Regions from separate parts of the Homo sapiens genome. Here region 1 is linked to region 2. Evidence: promoter capture Hi-C in 16 types of primary human blood cells and fetal thymus (Javierre and others, 2016). All regions are on one chromosome and are shown on one strand. Each heading gives the region's core, a stretch centred on a gene start or on the middle of the fragment in contact. The rest is flanking DNA. Distances are from core to core; before and after follow the strand shown. Region 1 overlaps HHAT (hedgehog acyltransferase). Region 2 holds the start of RD3 (RD3 regulator of GUCY2D).

Evidence for each region. The method cuts DNA at HindIII sites, captures the fragments that hold promoters and counts their contacts. A CHiCAGO score of 5 or more calls a contact.
Region 1: a fragment that was not itself captured here is called in contact with the fragment with the promoter of RD3 in region 2 in 1 of 17 cell types (total B cells); the score reaches 5.2 in total B cells.

Annotation. Positions count from the first base shown.
Region 1 is chr1:210,397,721-210,402,566 of GRCh38, forward strand. HHAT (hedgehog acyltransferase) reads left to right here. Exons shown (of 12, transcript NM_018194.6): 5 at 2,748-2,942. Among named protein-coding and RNA genes, the nearest start is that of HHAT, 71 kb to the left of the region's middle. The HindIII fragment of the contact is 1,090 bases long and covers 828-1,917 here.
Region 2 is chr1:211,489,058-211,494,194 of GRCh38, forward strand. It overlaps RD3 (RD3 regulator of GUCY2D), which reads right to left and starts at 3,105. Exons shown (of 3, transcript NM_001164688.2): 1 at 2,711-3,105. The HindIII fragment of the contact is 10,925 bases long and covers 679-5,137 here.

The DNA.
Region 1 (4,846 bases), core at 123-2,622, 1.1 Mb before region 2:
GATGAAACTGGCCTTTGAAATGCTTAGAAAAAGCTCTTCTGCTGCCCAAAGAAGCAGGCCGTCCATGCTGCTGCCCACCCTGCTGGGCCATGTCACCCTTTTATCCTAGAACCCTCTTCATAGTGCTTGAGATCTAGGTATGTGCATGGGAGGGATCGTGGTTGGGCAGCTGTGCCCTAAGGGCTACCTCTATAATGGGGACTGCCCTGCCATGATGCCAGTTGGATTGCAAGACATGGGAGGCTGATTCTGCTCTAGCAGGATTTTATTTACTTGTTTGTTTGTTACTTATTTTGAGATGGAATTTTACTCTTGTCTCCCAGGCTGGAGCGCAATGGCGCGATCTTGGCTCACTGTAACCTCTGCCTCCCAGGTTCAAGCGATTCTCCTCTTGCAGTATTTTAATGGTGTTTTGGGGATAGGATTCATTCCAATAGCATTTTTATAGACAAAGTATGAAAATCAACATTTTAGTGGGATTCTAATATATACAACAGTTTCGTGTAGGTGATTCTTTTTGCATTATTCACATCTTTTCATTGCCTGTGCATCATGAATGTATATAGTAGAGTTGCTTGTACTTGGGGAGAATCAATGGGTAATATTAAGATGGGTAGAGAACATGAGGCTCATGTGAGAGCGTGTCCTGTGATGTCTTAGAACAGTATTAAGTGTCGTCTGCCTGTACTGTTTGGCAGTAGGGAAACAGTGGGGGATGAATATGGGACAAATTTTTCTGCCCCAAGGTGGCTTTGGAGACCACTGTTAAATTCATCATAGTCTCTCAAGTAAATGGGGTTTACACAGCACTATCAAGTATTTCCTGAAGCTTCTTTCAGCATTTTCCAAGTTGAAGCAGCTTCAGTCTGTGGTAAGTTCCCAAACGAATCCCAGCAAACAGGCTTTTTCCAAAGGGATCAAATAGCACTTAATAAAAACATAACTGTGTCTATGTATGTAGCCACACATGCACAAAAAAGAATTCCATTGGTAAATGCTGTAGGTCATGTTGGAAAAGAAGCCCCTTTTTTTCATTTGTTAAAACTACCTCTTAAAATAGTCTTTGGCCATGTATTCCTTATAATTGGACTCTGCCCAGAGGTGAGGGTTTGAAGCAAATTTATGTGGCTGTTTTCTGTGGGTAGTAGGATGGAAAAATAGTAAAAATGAACTTCACATTTCTCTGGTTTTCTTGGAACTTAAAAATGGCTGATCTAGTCTCATATTTAAAATGTTCTCTTGAGCTAGAGTATAGGTTTGGGAAAGAATGGTAGGTAGGCAATATTTTGAAAGAGTTAGCATCAAAGCACGGGATTTGCAATTTACACTCCACACCTGTCTTGCCCTGAAAAAAGTCTTTGTTTCCACAAGACGACCTAAGTTCAGGCACTTATCACTTTTCAATTCGGTGGTTCCTGGGATCCACATTTTAAAATGCATGCCCGTGAGACATCACATTTCCCTATGGGAATAACAACTGTATTTGTAGAGTCCTTCCTGTGTATCCACCCCATGAAGGAGATATTGTTATTATTCCAGTTTTGTTTTGTTTTTGAGATGGAGTCTTGCTCTGTTGCCCAGGCTGGAGTGCAATGGTGCGATCTCGGCTCACAGCAACCTCTGCCTCCCGAGTTCCAGGGATTCTCCTGCCTCAGCCTCCCGGGTAGTTGGGATTACAGTCACCTACCATACCTGGCTAATTTTTGTATTTTTAGTAGAGATGGGGTTTTGCCATGTTGGTCAGGCTGGTCTTGAACTCCTGACCTCAGGTGATGCACCTGCCTCGGCCTCCCAAAGTGCTGGGATATCCCAGTTTTATATATGAAGAAATGAATCCACAGAGATGGAGTCATTTGCCTCAGGTCACACAGGTAGTTATGAGACACCAGCATTTGAATTTAGGCAGTTAGACTTCAAAGCTTGAATCATTAAACCACAATGATACCTTGCGTCTCAAAGTTAAAACATTGTGGTTTTTAAGGATTTCCCCATCAGGTCTGACCAAGGTTATATCATAAAGCAAAGACATGTTAATTCATCTACTTATTCAATGTGATAACTATAAATTAGTTGATGATTAGATAAAAATCTGTGATTCTCCTAAAATGGGAATAAATGTATCAATCAGGTAGACTATGCAAAGTCCTCAATAGCTCATAAAGCAGGTAAGATGCAATTTTTCTATGACATAAATTTGACTAATCAATATGCAAAAAATCAAAAATGCAAAAAAACCCTACATATTTAAAATCTCTGGCTTAGACTTTGGAAAGTCTTTTGTGGTTTGGATGGCCCAGTTTTCTTAATAGGTCTTCCTAGAAATGTGTACTAATACTTTCTCTCACCTTCACTTCTGAAGGATGCTGTATGTGGGATGTGGTCCAGTTGGCATTTTTCCAGCTGTCTTCTGGCTTCCATTGTGTCTGTTGAAAAGTCAATCCAATATCTTATTGTTGTGTGACCCAGGGGTCTGGGTGGCTTTGGTTGAAGGCAGGAGAGTGGTTACTTGCTTCTGGGTGGAGCTGATGGGACTCTGGGGGTTAATGTGGAAAGTCCCTCTGAATCTTGTTTGTCTGTGTTGTACCAAAATTCCCAGGGCAGTGATAAGAGTTTCTTTATTGGGTAATTAAACGTGATCCTCTTACATGTAGAACCTTCAATATCACTTCCATGAGCTCACTTCTGTTTATTTTCCTCCCTCCCCTCTTCCTCCCTGTCTCTCTCTGGATGGGCCCCACCATTTGCAGCACAGACCCTGGATTCTCATGCTCTATGGGATGTGGGCCTGCTGGTGTGTGCTGGGGACCCCTGGTGTGGCTATGGTTTTGCTCCATACCACCATCTCTTTCTGCGTGGCCCAGTTCCGGTCTCAGCTCCTGACGTGGCTCTGTTCTCTCCTCCTCCTCTCCACACTGAGGCTGCAGGGTGTGGAAGAAGTTAAGGTAAGTGTTTTCCTGTTACCATTGGGAATCCAGAGAAGGCCCCTTTGGCTTTGCCTTGATCCCAGTAGACACCTTGGTTTTCAGACAAGAGATGATTGTAGAACTGTGATGGGGCTCCCCATAGTGGCCGTACAGGGTTGCTACAAGTGAACCCTAGTGGTGCATTCTGCAATCCTATCATTCCTGGCTGTGTTTTAGCCCTGTGAGATTGCCCAGGGCTGGCCCTGTACCATCTCTCCCAGTTTAGGTGGGCATGTGGGGTGCCAGATGTCACAGGGCCAGAGGGTCAGGAACAAAGAGAGAAGAAACAAACAGATGATTTACTAAAAAACATCTGGAGAGTGCCCTACAATTTATAGGGAATGCACACATCACTCAACTCATCTGATGGCCACAATGGCCCTGTGGTGGTAAGTCAGGTCTTTTTCTTCTTCCTAGTTGATGGAACAGATTTATTTATTCATTTGTAGAGACGGAGTCTTGCTCTGTCACCCAGGGCTGAAGTGCAGTGGTGCGATCTTGGTTCACTGCAACCTCCGCCTCCTGGGTTCAAGCGATTCTCGTGCCTCAGTCAACCGAGTGGGTGGGATATAGGTACCTGCCACCATACCCAGTTAATTTTTGTATTTTTAGTAGAGATGGGGTTTCACCATGTTGGCCGGGCTGGCCTCAAACTCCTGGCTTCATGTGATCTGCCCACCTTGGCCTCCCCAAAGTGCTGGGATTACAGGTATAAGCCATTGTGCCCGGCCAGGAACATATTTATTATCTACTCATGTGACCCAGTGGAAGCTCTTTCAATTTAGGTAGTGAAAACAAAGTGTTTAGCCCCGAAGGGCACAGACCAAGCTTTCATTTCTGTAAACCCAGAGGCATTTTGACAGACTCAACCACCTATCCATTGTTGGTGCTAATAGAGGAGGACACTGGGCTCAAACCTCACTTCTTTAGGGCTTTTGTTTGCATTAGTAAAATCTTATTTTATAGGCACTTACCTTTTAGCTTTATTTTTTTTCTCAGTCACAATAACAGTGCATTTTTACTTTATGAGTGCACATCAGACTTGACCCAGAGAATTGGTGGATGACAGACAGACTGCCTTCTGAGTTGAGTTTCCTGTGCCTTGCTGAGGCGATTGCACCTATCAGCAAATTCTTCTTGTACTACATTTTCTGATTTCTGTTGTGTGTTCTCTGATCATCTCCTGGGCAGTGGCTAGCATCCCCTGGACGGCTCTGGACTATCTGTTTCTGTCTTTGGTAACTGGAGTGACCTAGCCCTGCTTATGCAATTGAAGCTTAGGCCCCTCAGCCTATCTCAGGCCCACTCAGGCTGTGTGAGGTTCCTTCTCTCACTTGTCTGTTGAATACACCCTTTACATGTTCAAGTTGGAGCTGCCAAGGTCTGTGGCTGCAGGGGAGTAAAGGCAGAGTCTGTGTGGAACTCTCAACCATCCAGAAGTGGGAGCTTTCTTTTAAGGAGAAATGCATGGCAAGAACACAAGTCCAAGGCCCCAGCTCCAGGGTCTGGTTCTGGGCACTCAGCTTCAGAGCCCTTCACTTTTGGGGCCAGTTGACTCTGAGAACAGCCAGCCTGAGAGTTGCGCAGCTTGGAAAACATCAGGGGTCATATGCCCAGGGCAGGACCATTGATGTTTCCCACCTTCATCGACCTTCTCCTTCCTAGCCCGGTTCCCAAACACTGCCCAACTGGCAGGAGCTGTTTTTTTGAGTCAGGCCAATCTGCTTACCTTTCCCTTTACACATTTACGTATGTTTATGCTGTCTCTTGGAACCAACCTTCTCATCATCCCTGTCCACCGGATTCTCTTTCAAAGTACAGCTTAGACCTCAGTCTCTAAAGGTAAGAAATAAAAGAGGGCCACAGAAAAACAGATCAGTTAG
Region 2 (5,137 bases), core at 1,855-4,354:
CACCTTCATGGCCCCAAGCCTCAGTTTCCCCAATCTATAAGGGAATAATAAAGGTACCTATTTCAAGTTACTGTGAAAATCAAATGAGATTATGTCTTTGTAAATGTTTTATTTTTATAAACTAACAATAAGCTGATTCACCTAGATCAGTGGCTACCATTGTCGCTTAGTACAGATTCTTACCCTTGGGTCCTAGGGAAAATTCAGGGATTTATGAACTTGGGTGGGGAAAAAAGTCATCTTTATTTCCACTAACCTTTAACTGAAATGTGGTATTTCTTTAGTTATGAATGAGGGTCATAGACCACAGTAATATCAGTAGCCCCATGGCTTTATCTCCAGCAGAAACCACAGATTTTTCACAAAATGCTTTAAAGTTGTTATTCTTGAATTATCTGGTATGCTCATCACTACTATGAAATTGTGGCATTTATTAGACTTGCTACTAGGTTTTATTATTTCACATGTTGATAGGGAAGCACACATATTATTATATCATAAATCATTTTTTCTTTCTTTTTTTTTTTTTTGATAGCTGCATTTCAATAGAGCTTGTTTCCTTTGTACCCCAGTGAATTTACTTTTATGCATTTAGAAGCATTTTTCTAGGAACGTGTCCACAGGCTTCACAGACTCCCAAAGGGGGCACAAAAATAAAGGATCCCCTGGCTTGGTGCAAGCTTGACCCCAACTTTGTTCCTGGCCTTCCCCAGCCCTGGCTTCTGGTCACCGTGTTGGGAGAGCTGAGCCTCCCTGTTTCAAGAGAAGGCCCAGGTGGTGAGGCCTCAGGTTTACAGAGCAGAGTGGATGATGGGGAAGCCCTCGCACGTTCTGTCTCTGCCTTTTGGTGTCACTCACCCACGCCCGTTATCTTCCATTCTCTGATCTTCTCTTTCCTCTTTCCTTTCTCCTTCATTACCCCTTCCACCCCCACACTCTCAGAGCCTTCCTTTCAGCCTATTTTTGAACATCCCTGAGGATAATGTCTTTTCTGTGGCTCCTGGGAGGCGCCACTACCAGCTGTGGCTCGTTAGCTGTGCTGGAAAAACTCTCGCGTTGTGCCTCAAGGGCAAGAGGAGTCTCTGGTTCCACTTGGCACTCAGAGGGGGACCAGGGATGTCTCAATGGTGGGAACAATGGGGAGTGTGACCTTGGAGCTGGAAGCAGGGCTCTGACCCCCTGCAGGAGGGATGAGAGTGCCCTCACCTCTAGTGAGAACTGAGGCCCTGCGCCGGCCCCAGCCAAACAGTGAGGGCGTGCAGACCTTGCCCAGGAAGGCCAATTTCTCAGTGCAAAGGGAGCCATGGCCAGGGAACCCGGCCCGGGTCCTCCACCTCTGAAGCTGAGCTAGGCATCTGCAGGCCAGGGTGAGGGGCTGCCCTGTGTGACCCGCCGGACCCAGGCATAGAGCAGCACCTGAGTCAGGCTGTCCCAGAGCACTGGCAGCTTCACTGCAGGGGCAGGCTGGCTCTGCTGACGCCAGACGCTCAGTCTGGGCAGAGACTTCTCAGTGGGGGCAGAGAGTAGGTGCTTCTCTGGCTAATCTGCCTCCCAGCTCTGTGTTTGATAAGGCCCAAGTCCAACTTTACAGATTGCAAATTGACCTTATTTCTCTTTGGCATCACAGAAAAACAACCTATAATCCACCAAGCCAGATATGAGCGGGCCTGACCTGTGGATCCTCTGCCCACCTGACAGACATCTGCTCATTTGTCGGGAACCCCTCAAGAGACAACTCCTCCCTGCAGCCGGCCCCTCACTTCCCCCCACCCATGGAGCACTGATCCCAGCCACCAGGGCCTGACACAAGGGCCCATCACCATGGCATCTAGCAAACACGTTTCTCACGCTTTGGGTTGTATTTATCTCTTCCCCACCTAGCTATGAATTCTGCAAGGGCGAGAGGAATGTGGGTTGAATCTGCTGCACATGGTAGCACTTGATAAGCGGTTCCTGAATGAATGAGTGAATGGCAGCCAGTCCTTCCCATTCTGAGGCAGAGGTGCAGCCAGGAGAGGGCGTGTACACAGGTCTGACTGACCACAGTGGGAGGGGACTGACCCTCATCCCTTGGTCGCAGCTGGACTTTCCTTCTAGGCCCGATCTCCCTGGCGCCCCACCCTGCACCCATCTGCCTGGGCCCACTCTCCTGGGCATGTTATCAGGGATGCACAGACTGCTCCATGTTCGAGGGGACTGAGGCACATCCATCACCCTCGTGCCCTGGGTGCTGCTGCATCCCCAGAGCCTGACTCTGTGCCTTGGACTTAGTAGATGCTCGAATCACAGTTCGCAAACCCATGCAAGAGTCTCTGATTTGGGTTTCGCTTTCCTTCCCCCTGCCTGTGTCCACTCTATAAAGGCAGAAAGGAACCTGCTGGAGCTGGGTCCTCCCCGAGAGGCTTGCAGTTCCAGAACAGGCAAAAACAATGGCTTCCCACAGGTTTACAAAACAAGGAGCAGGCTATAGCCCCGAGGAAGCTGCAGGACCCTCATCGGTTCCAACTCCTGTGGAACTGATGAGGACTAAAGGGGCCTTCCTGTGGCCATCTGGGTCCCGGAGGTGGGCGGCTTTCTAGGCTCCCCAGCCTGCCACACCCCTTGAGGCCACCCCACCCAGCTTCAAGCCTCAGCCCTAACTTCCAAAGGTGCAGCTGTGCCAGGGTGCGGGTGGGGAAGACACTGTCTCCTGGGGAGACCTCCATCTTACCTCTGAGGTCAGCCTCTGCTCAGGTGCAGCGTCACAGCAGGGGGCCTGCGTTCTGCTTCCCAGTCTGGGAGAAGAGAGTGTCTGGATATTTTCAGGAAAAAAAAAGAAAGTTGAGCAGCCACAGCAGGGCAGGGCAGTCTACATCCTCAAGTCTCCCTCAGCTTCTCTGCTGCTGCCGGCTGGCCTCAAATTTTGCCTCTCTTTGGTTCTCTGAGAAGTTTTACCAAGAGAAGAGACAGGAGGAGAGATCCAGCCTGGACTATTGTTTGTGGGGTGTGTAGGTGTGTGTGTGTGTGTGTGTGTGTGTGTGTGTGTGTGTGTGTGTATGCGTGTATGTATCCCGCGAGGCTGGAGCCACAGCTTCCCTGATGAACCATGGAGGCGGGCCAGCTCCTGAGCTGCGGTTGCCCTGGAGACCCACCTAAGCCTCTTTGCCTGGAGCAGCATTATCTGTAGAGGGAGTGGCTGATCTGACACAAAAGCCTGAGGCGACCCAGGCCCAGGCAGTGAGGGAGCACTTGTGTCCAGATGGCATTCTGTCCGCTTCCTCCTCCAGCCGGTGCTCAGTGTGGCACAAACTGGGCAAGACCATTCTCACCCAACCCTCTGCTGAGCCCTAGGTGTACCTGCTGTTGGCAAATGTTTCCAGCTGCCTGGTGGGTGGCTCCTGGATGGAGATCCCCTCTTTCTATCAGCTCCCTCCTACAGGGAAGGGGTGATTCTGGGTGCTGAGGACAGGGACCTGTGAAGATACATCTCCGCCTTTGCCCCACCACATCCCTTGCCTGTCTTCCTCTCTGCTTATCTAAATTATTTCCTTCCCTCAAGGCAAGCTCAAGAGCAGACAGTTCTGACTTTCAGAAGGAGGGGCTGTCCAGGGAGAAGAGGAACATGGAACAGAAAGCATTGACGTTGAGGTATTTGAGATAACATTTGGGGATAGCAGAAGCATCCTGTTGCTGTTCTGCAGCATCCCACACTCATGTCTGGGCCTCCTTCCTGTCTCTGCTCTCTGGTCACGCTGTCACTTGTAGACTGTTCTGCCTAGAAGCCATGTGTGGGCCAGCTTGCACCTAACAGACATTAGGTAGCACTAAAACAGATGCACACTGCCCTGTGAGGGGCATGGGAATACTGTAATGGGCATGAAGCTGCATTATAATAGATCTTAGGTAATCCTGTGCTGGGTGATAGCGTGACTTTTGCACACATCTGGTTTTGATTGTGTTGGAAATAAAGCAGAAAGTACAACCAAGAATAAATTAAACAATGGCTGATGAAATGGACTCAGGTTGCCCACCTGCCTGCCTGCATGATTTCGTCCCTGGGTGATTTGTCACTTCGTGCTTGCTCTGTGGCTGGTTCCACTCAGCTGGTTCCATCCGCCTTCCCTCTTCATCCATCAAGCAGGCAAGATTCTTGAGTCAGGAGTTGGATCATATACTTCTCTTGACCAGTTCACAGCACGACAGCCCCAAAGATTGAGTGGGTCACTTGGGGATGGAAGATCCCCACATTTGAGGGAGCTGAAGCTGACTTCCTCTGACCCACAGTTCCCAGGCGGCCTCCACCTCAGGGCCAGCTAAGGCCAGAGTCACCCAAAGCAGGTAACTGGGAGTCCCCACCTCTGAGCACCCCACCACTATCCTGGCACTTTCCCAAGGGGCGTGGCTTGGAGGTCCAAGGGCAGAAATTCCCAGGCATTTCCACACTGTAGGGAAGGGAGCAGGGGGATGACAAGACTTTACCTTCCCTTTAGGAAAGTTGCTGGAGGCAATGAGGAGAGGAGGGCATGGACTAAGTCACATGCTCATCTGTGCAGCACGTATTTCTAAAGCACCATTCTACAGGGGCACCAAGCTAGGAGCTGGCTGAGCCTGGCTCTCCTCTCTGCACACATCCCAGCCAAGCCTGTGTGTGCTGGATTGCTGGATCAGATGAGGAGGAGGTGGAAGTCTGGCAGGCAGGTGGGGAGCAGGGACAGCATTAGGGCCCAGAGTTAAAGACTTTTATCTCCAAGTAGTACAACCTTGGGTCTGCTACTGACCATTCTGTGTTTGAATAAAAACAATTCATCCCTTTTCTATAGCCATGCTTTTGTATTAATATCTCCCCTTCTAATGCACACACAATGAATGTAAATGAGATCATAGAGGCCAATGTCTTGAGCCATCAGAAAGATTTTGTCGCAGCAGCTGCCAGATGAGCTTCAGGACTCCTGACCCTGGGATGCCAGGGAACAAGCACACAGACGACTTATAGCAGTCTCCCTGGCAGACGCAGCTGGCCCCTCTCCTGCATTTTTCAAATGGTGCCTGTGATTAGAAGAGGGAGGCACTCCCTAACCCACGACCCTCCCTGACAGCTGCCTTGATACCGTAACTCACAGGCCTTGGTGGGTGTGTTGACTCCTCATTTATTCTGATT